3 separate regions of the Homo sapiens genome follow, and regions 1 and 3 are each linked to region 2. The links are contacts of gene promoters, found by promoter capture Hi-C in human tissues and cell types (Jung and others, 2019). All regions are on one chromosome and are shown on one strand. Each heading gives the region's core, a stretch centred on a gene start or on the middle of the fragment in contact. The rest is flanking DNA. Distances are from core to core; before and after follow the strand shown. Region 1 has its middle 36 kb from the start of GALR1. Region 2 holds the start of GALR1 (galanin receptor 1). Region 3 has its middle 55 kb from the start of GALR1.

Evidence for each region. Contacts are between HindIII fragments. The study calls those that stand out against the background at their distance.
Region 1: a contact is called between a fragment that was not itself captured here and the fragment with the promoter of GALR1 in region 2, in 1 of the 25 tissues and cell types used here (stomach).
Region 3: a fragment that was not itself captured here is called in contact with the fragment with the promoter of GALR1 in region 2 in 1 of the 25 tissues and cell types used here (dorsolateral prefrontal cortex).

What each region holds. Positions count from the first base shown.
Region 1 is chr18:77,284,600-77,287,299 of GRCh38, forward strand. No RefSeq gene overlaps it. Among named protein-coding and RNA genes, the nearest start is that of GALR1, 36 kb to the left of the region's middle. The HindIII fragment of the contact is 5,849 bases long and covers 1-2,700 here.
Region 2 is chr18:77,248,463-77,251,162 of GRCh38, forward strand. It overlaps GALR1 (galanin receptor 1), which reads left to right and starts at 1,386. Exons shown (of 3, transcript NM_001480.4): 1 at 1,386-2,700. The coding sequence starts at 2,087. It overlaps LOC124904329 (a long non-coding RNA gene), which reads right to left. Exons shown (of 2, transcript XR_007066422.1): 1 at 2,386-2,700; 2 at 1-1,095. RefSeq lists enhancers at 1,022-1,693, 2,365-2,700. The HindIII fragment of the contact is 7,211 bases long and covers 1-2,700 here.
Region 3 is chr18:77,303,154-77,305,853 of GRCh38, forward strand. No RefSeq gene overlaps it. Among named protein-coding and RNA genes, the nearest start is that of GALR1, 55 kb to the left of the region's middle. The HindIII fragment of the contact is 3,216 bases long and covers 1-2,700 here.

The DNA.
Region 1 (2,700 bases), core at 161-2,660, 36 kb after region 2:
CTACACAGCAACAGCTCTCAAGTGTACAGGAAGCATTCTCTAAGTACATTCTACATTACACCATCAAACACATCCAATTTGATTTCAAAGGACTGACGATATACAAAATATATTATCTGACAACAGTGGAAGGGAATTAGAATCAATAACAGAAGGGAACTTGGGAAATTCACAAATATGTTGAAATTGAACACATGCTCCTAAATAACAAATGGATCCCAAAAGAAATCAAAAGGTAAATAGGAAACCACGGTGGTGAGTTAAAAAGATACCAAAAATCATGAAAGTAACAGAAGTAGGGCTCAGAGAGAAGGTTAGAGTTGTAAACACCTATGCTGAAAAAGAAGAAACATCTCAAATCAATAATATAACCTTCAACCTTAAGACACTATAAAAAAGAGCAAACTAAATCCAAAGCTAGCAGAAAGAAAGAAGCAATAAAGATTAAAGTGGAAACAGATGAACTAGAGAATAGAAACAGAGTAGCAAAAAATCAATGAAACCAAAAGTCAGTCTTTGAAAACCTTTAAAAGGTTGAAAAAGCCTTAACAAGACTGACCAAGAAAAACAGAAAAGAATTAAATGACTAAAATCAAGATGAAAGGAAGAACAATACTACTGATCTTATAGGGAAAGAGGACGATAAAATAACACACAGTAAAGTGATTGGGTTAGTTATAATAATAAAAAAAACTTCCCACAAGGAGAAATCCAGGAGCAGATGGCTTCACTTGAGAATTCTTTTTTTTTTTTAATTATTATACTTTAAGTTCTAGGGTGCACGTGCACAATGTGCAGGTTTGTTACATAGGTATACATGTGCCATGTTGGTTTGCTGCACCCATTAACTTGTCATTTACATTAGGTATTTCTCCTAATGCTATCCCTCCCCCTGCCCCCGACCCCACGACAGACCCCGGTGTGTGATGTTCCCCGCCCTGTGTCCAAGTGTTCTCATTGTTCAATTCCCACCTATGAGTGAGAACATGTGGTGTTTGGTTTTCTGTCCTTGCAATAGTTTGCTCAGAATGATGGTTCCCACCTGCATCCATGTCCCTGCAAAGGACATAAACTCATTCTTTTTTATGGCTGCATAGTATTCTGTGGTGTATATGTGCCACATTTTCTTAATCCAGTCTATCAGTGATGGACATTTGGGTTGGTTCCAAGTCTTTGCTATTGTGAATAGTGCTGCAATAAACATACATGTGTATGTGTCTTTAAAGTAGCATGATTTATAATCCTTTGGATATATACCCAGTAATGGGATCGCTGGGTCAAATGGTATTTCTAGTTGTAGATCCTTGAGAAATCACCACATTGTCTTCCACAATGGTTGAACTAGTTTACACTCCCACAAACAGTGTAAAACCATTCCTATTTCTCCACATCCTCTCCAGCATCTGTTGTTTCCTGGCTTTTTAATGATTGCCGTTCTAACTGGGATGAGATGGTATCTCATTGTGGTTTTGATTCGCATTTCTCTGATGACCAGTGATGATGAGCATTTTTTCATGTGTCTGTTGGCTGCATAAATGTCTTCTTTTGAGAAGTATCTGTTCATATCCTTTGCCCACTTTTTGATGGGATTGTTTGATTTTTTCTTGTAAATTTTGTTTAAGTTCTTTGTAGATTCTGGATATTAGCCCTTTGTCAGATGGGTAGATTGCAAACATTTTCTCTCATTCTGTAGGTTGCCTGTTCACTCTGATGGTAGTTTCTTTTGCTGTGCAGAAGTTCTTTAGTTTGATTAGATCCCATTTGTCTATTTTGGCTTATGTTGCCATTGTTTTTGGTGTTTTACTCGTGAAGTCCTTGCCCATGTCTATGTCCTGAATGGTACTGCCTAGGTTTTCTCCTAGGGTTTTTATGGTTTTAGGTCTAACAGTTAAGTCTTTAATCCATCTTGAATTAATTTTTGTATTAGGTGTAAAGAAGGGATGCAGTTTCAGGTTTCTACATATGGCTAGCCAGTTTTCCCAGCACCATTCATTAAATAGGGCATCCTTTCCCCATTTCTTGTTTTTGTCAGGTTTGTCAAAGATCAGATGGTTGTAGATGTGTGGTGTTATTTCTGAGGCCTCTGTTCTGTTCCATTGGTCTACATATCTGTTATGGTATCAGTACCATGCTGTTTTGGTTACTGTAGCATTGTAGTATAGTTTGAAGTCAGGTAGTGTGATACCTCCAGCTTTGTTCTTTTTGCTTAGGCTTCTCTTGGCAATGCAGCCTCTTTTTTGGTTCCATATGAACTTTAAAGTAGTTTGTTCCAATTCTGTGAAGAAAGTCATTGGTAGCTTGATGGGGATGGCATTGAATCTACAAATTACCTTAGGCAGTATGGCCATTTTCATGATATTGATTCTTCCTATCCATGAGCATGGAATGTTCTTCCATTTGTTTGTCTCCTCTTTTATTTCATTGAGCAGTGGTTTGTATTTCTAATTGAAGAAGTCCTTTACATCCCTTGTAAGTTGGATTCCTAGGTATTTTATTCTTTTTGTAGCAATTGTGAATAGGAGTTCACTCATGATTTGCCTCTCTGTTTGTCTGTTATTGGTGTATAAGAATGGTTGTGATTTTTGCACTTTGATTTTGTATCCTGAGACTTTGCTGAAGTTGCTTATCAGCTTAAGGAGATTTTGGGCTGAGACAATGGGGTTTTCTAAACATACAATCATGTCATCTGCAAACAGGGAC
Region 2 (2,700 bases), core at 136-2,635:
ATAAAAGTGACTTCAACTCTAGTGATAATATTTAAAAATTATTCTAAGCTAGATGGTGGGTGCATTGGTATTCAATGTAATTTTATCATATCTGTTTCATGTGAAAATAGTTCATAATTTAAAAACTCTCCCAAATCATATTACTACTAACTTTCAATGCAACAGAGCTGTCAAATACAACATGATACTTTGAAAGCCTGGGTCGGAGAGCGTCTCAGGGAAGAAAAGCAATACGGATTGGCAAGATCACCTGAGGAAGTTTCAAGGCATTCTCTCAGGTCGGGGCAGGTAAGAGCATTCTTGGCTTTAGCAGGATACCCAAATAGGCAAGTTGCTTACACTCAATTTTGTCTTCCAGAAAATGTGTGTGAATAGAACAATTCCCTTGCAAGGAACTCCCTAGCAATGAATGTAGATAAAATACATAGATGTTCAATGAACTGCATCAAGATTTATCTGGAAATGAGGCAGAACAGAGCTAGCAAGGTAGAAAAACAAGATCCTACTTCCTTAACTCCTCAAGGCAAAGAGCCCCTGCCCTCTTTGGTCTTTGGATTACCCATCCCCTCAGGCACTGCGTCCGCGCATAATGGACAGTCACCAGATGGTGAATGCTGGAAACGCATCGGTGTTTTTGAAAGTGAAAACAGACAAATCACCGCAAATAAAGGAATCAGTGTCAGCTCTCTAGCTGGGAACCACCAAGGTTACAAAGCTAACGTGACTGGCCCTGCTATACCGAAACGGCTTAATTTCTTTCTGGCAAATCCACATTTACGGCAGTAAGATACTAAACACTTTCTTTCACTTTAAAAATATTTCGTTTGTCACTGCTGCAGTTTATGTCCCTCAGATGAGTAATACAAGGCAAAAATGAAGTGAGGTTGGGTGGTGTGAACAGCCTTCCCCTTCCATGTCAGCCACGTCTATAGAGAAGCTCACGCGGCCCTTTCCCTTTGCACTTCTCTCCTCTGTAGCAGGCCGCGGGGTGAGGGTGGGATTAGGCGGCCAATTTTACAAAACTCCAGGGAGCGTCGCCAGCCTCGATTTCCTGGGGTTATTCCTGGGAGAGAGGCGTTCTCACGGACAGCCACCCTGGGGAGGAGGAGGAGGAAAGGCACTAATGGATGAGGAGGCCCGCGCACCCCTCCGCCTCCCACCCCGGCGCGCCCTGGAACGCCCTGGAGCGCGCCCGGCTTCCCTCGCCCGCCTGGCCCGCGGCATCCGGCAGCCCCGCCTTCAGCCCGCCGGGCAGGTCCGCACTCCGCAGAGGCGAGCGCGCTCCGGTTCCAGCCGGGAGGTGGGCGGCGACCCATCCCGCTAGAATCCGTCCAGTCTCTGCTCGCGCACCGTGACTTCTAAGGGGCGCGGATTTCAGCCGAGCTGTTTTCGCCTCTCAGTTGCAGCAGAGAAGCCCCTGGCACCCGACTCTATCCACCACCAGGAAGCCTCCCAAAAGAGCTCTCGCCCTGTGGACGACTCGGAATCCCTGGAAAAGCCGGGAGGGAGTCGGAGGCGCCAGCCCACTGGGGAGGTGGCGCTGGGCGCGCGGGATGCGCGGGGAGCCTTCTCTGCAGGAGCCGCACAGTGCACTGCTGCGCGCTGGGCAGTGCGGGGAAGCGCCGCGGGAAGGAGCGGCTCCGAGCAACAGGTGCAGCACGCAGCCCCTCCGGGAGCCAGGGAAAACCGCCGGCGAAGATCTGGAGCGGTAAGGCGGAGAGAAGGGTCTTTCCACCTGCGCGGCTGCAGCCGGCGGATCCCTCTTCCCAGGCTCCGTGGTCGCGCAGCGGGCGGAGGCGCCCGGGAAGGGGACCCCAGTGCTCTCGAGATCACCGTCCCTTCCCGAGAAGGTCCAGCTCCGGGCTCCCGAACCCACCCTCTCTCAGAAGGTCCCGGCGCAAAGACGGTGCCACCAGGCACGGCCACCGGATCCCCGCTCCCGCTGGCTCGCGCCTCGGGGGAAGCTCAGACTCCTAAACTCGCACTCTCCGTGCTTTGCGCCGGGACCCCTGGCCACCCCCGGCGCCTACTATCCCGCCCTCCCTCCCCGCGCGCCCCGCCGCTCGCCGGGACAGCCCCGCGGGCCATGGAGCTGGCGGTCGGGAACCTCAGCGAGGGCAACGCGAGCTGGCCGGAGCCCCCCGCCCCGGAGCCCGGGCCGCTGTTCGGCATCGGCGTGGAGAACTTCGTCACGCTGGTGGTGTTCGGCCTGATCTTCGCGCTGGGTGTGCTGGGCAACAGCCTAGTGATCACCGTGCTGGCGCGCAGCAAGCCGGGCAAGCCGCGGAGCACCACCAACCTGTTCATCCTCAACCTGAGCATCGCCGACCTGGCCTACCTGCTCTTCTGCATCCCCTTCCAGGCCACCGTGTACGCGCTGCCCACCTGGGTGCTGGGCGCCTTCATCTGCAAGTTCATCCACTACTTCTTCACCGTGTCCATGCTGGTGAGCATCTTCACCCTGGCCGCGATGTCCGTGGACCGCTACGTGGCCATCGTGCACTCGCGGCGCTCCTCCTCCCTCAGGGTGTCCCGCAACGCGCTGCTGGGCGTGGGCTGCATCTGGGCGCTGTCCATTGCCATGGCCTCGCCCGTGGCCTACCACCAGGGCCTCTTCCACCCGCGCGCCAGCAACCAGACCTTCTGCTGGGAGCAGTGGCCCGACCCTCGCCACAAGAAGGCCTACGTGGTGTGCACCTT
Region 3 (2,700 bases), core at 23-2,522, 55 kb after region 2:
TGGTAGTGAATTCGTCTTATGAGATCTGATGGTTTTATAAATGGGAGTTCCCCTGCAGAAGCTCTCTTGCCTTCCTCTGTGTAAGACATGCCTTTGCTTCTCCTTTGCTTTCTGCCATGATTGTGATGCCTCCTCAGCCTATGTGGAACTGTGAGTCCACTAAACCTCTTTCCTTTATAAATTACCCAGTCCCCGGTATGTGTTTATTAGCAGCATGAGAATAGACTAACATTGTGTTTGCAGAGGCAAGGAAACTATTCCTAAAAAAGAACGTACAGGTGTCAAGTGTATGGAGGTGGATGAGAAAAATCGCAGGCAGACAGGAAGGTGAGAAGAGAGACCAGGACGTGGTGGATCCACAGACACACAGCTCTTGAAGCAGAAGATTATTTTGCAGTCTTGCATGAAGACTGCATCCTAAGCAGGTCTTTACGGGCTGGAACACTGAAAACCAGCGGCAGAATGGCACAGCGTGAGGCTGCAGAGGACACAGGACCAAGGGTGGGAAGGGCTTGCAGGGGCTAGGTGAGCACTTTGGACTTATCTTTGTCAGTTTTTTTTAACAATATAAAATATATTTGACTGTTTTTAAAAGGCTCAAGCCTCAGTTTTTCAATAGGCTGCACACATCTGTCTCATCTGTTGGACGTCTCTCACCAGATCAACCTGGCTTCAGCTGGCAGCACTTCATTCCATCCACAAGAAAAAGACCAACTTAATTTTGAGAAAAGAAACTCCAGGTCTGAGAACAATGAACGTTAATCTGTAATTGAAAATAAAATTAGGGTGAATGTCTCATGTTGCTTTCTAGAGCCTTCTCCTCACACAGAGCCAGGTGTGTGATCTTCCTAAGTTAGCAGACGCTGATGCTGATGGATGCTGTGCACATGCACACACATGTACAAATGCACACATGCACACACGCACACATGCACACACATGTACAAATGTACACGCACACACAATGCACACATACACACGCACATATGCACACACATGCACTCACACATGCATCAAAAACTGCTGACAAGTCTGCTGCGATGAGGATGGGGGATCTCTCCTAGGTTTGGCATCACAGCAGTGACTAAAATCCTAAATGAGAGCAGATAGAGCTGGAATGGGATTGGAAGAATGCAGATTGGGATATCTTGAGGCAGGAGTAAGAGGTAAAGAAATCGTTGCAGCAGATCTGGTGGCAACAGCACAGAGACTGTTTTATCTTCTTAGCACTGGCGATGGCGATGGTGCCCAAGCACATCTCAGGCTCCTTGCTGCTGGGTGGACGCACGACTGATCCCATCAGTGGGCAGTGGCTGAAGCTTGAAGGAGCTGACTAATGACCAGGGGAGGCCTGTGCTCCAGATGGCGCAGCTGCAAGAACAGCAAAGCATTTGTGGCTGAGCAACTGCGTCTCAGAGGATTGTAGATCAGAGACCTGTTTTGGCCCATGAGACTGCATTCTCTTTAAGGAGAAACCTTAAACATAAAAGTGTTGCCTTTAGGCAGCAAGAATAAGAAATAAGTATTGGGTATGTTAAATCACTGGACTGCCGCGGCTGTTTGCTAGTGCATCCTAAGCAGAGATGAGGTTGGTGGGGCTTCTATTGTGGCAGACACCGAGATACAGAGGTGGTTCACTGCTCAGCTTTACCCTAGCTCATCCTGAAACTGGAAGGGCAGTGCCATTTTAACAAAAACTCAGCATATTCATCATTGGTTCAGGGTCTCGTGGTGCGTGGTGGTAAAACTGTTATCGCTGTCTGGAAAGATGGCAACACGTATTAGCCAAGTGCCTGTAACTGAGGTCAGTGATAACTCGAGAGACAGCTTGTGCAGCAGTTGGACGTACAGCTCTAGGGCAAGAAACCACTCGGTTTTGTAAATACACTACAGGAAAGAGAAAGCATTTTCCAGTTTGCAAGCAGAAGTAAAAGGATATGGAGAAACTCCAGCAATTCTGTGCCTTTCAAATTTGGAAGCACAGGCTGTTTCTGGCCCCCAGATCATGAATATTATATTGAGAAAGATTTCTAGAGACAGACACCTGGTAAAATCTTCCAACTGATTAACTTGTCAAGTGGCAAAGATGAGATTTAAGATGTTGCACCCAATAAATCCTATTAGATAGATGAGAAGAGTCAGATCAACCCATTTATGCCTGAGATTATAATTTTTTGAATTTTTGTGATCAGACCTTGGCAATGACCTTGAGCAGTAGGATATAAATAACTTCCACGTGCTTAGCGTTCCAATAATGGAACGCTAGGCATAAAGGGATCAAGGCTCCCTACAGAAGCCAGACAGCCTCAAGCTGCCTTCTAGTGCAAAAGAGACAGGCGTAAAGGCTGATCCAGTCTGTAGAGCAGACCTGAGGACCTCGAGTGTGGCAGCTGGCATACAGAATCGACTTGAACAAAGGGGATAAGAAGCCTGCAAAGTTTTTAAGTGATTGCATTGCCAAAGACAGCATGAAACAGAATTCGTCATTTCATGAGCATTCAAAATTTTAAATGACATTTGAGCCCCAATTTATTTAAATAGGAAATGGATGAGAAAACTGCATTCTCTTTAAGGAGGGGCCTTAAACTCTTTAAAAAATTTTTTCTTATTTTTTAGACAGAGTCTCGCTCTGTTGTCCAGGCTGGAGTGCAGTGGCACGATCTTGACTCACTGCAACCTGTGCCTCCTAGGCTAAGATTT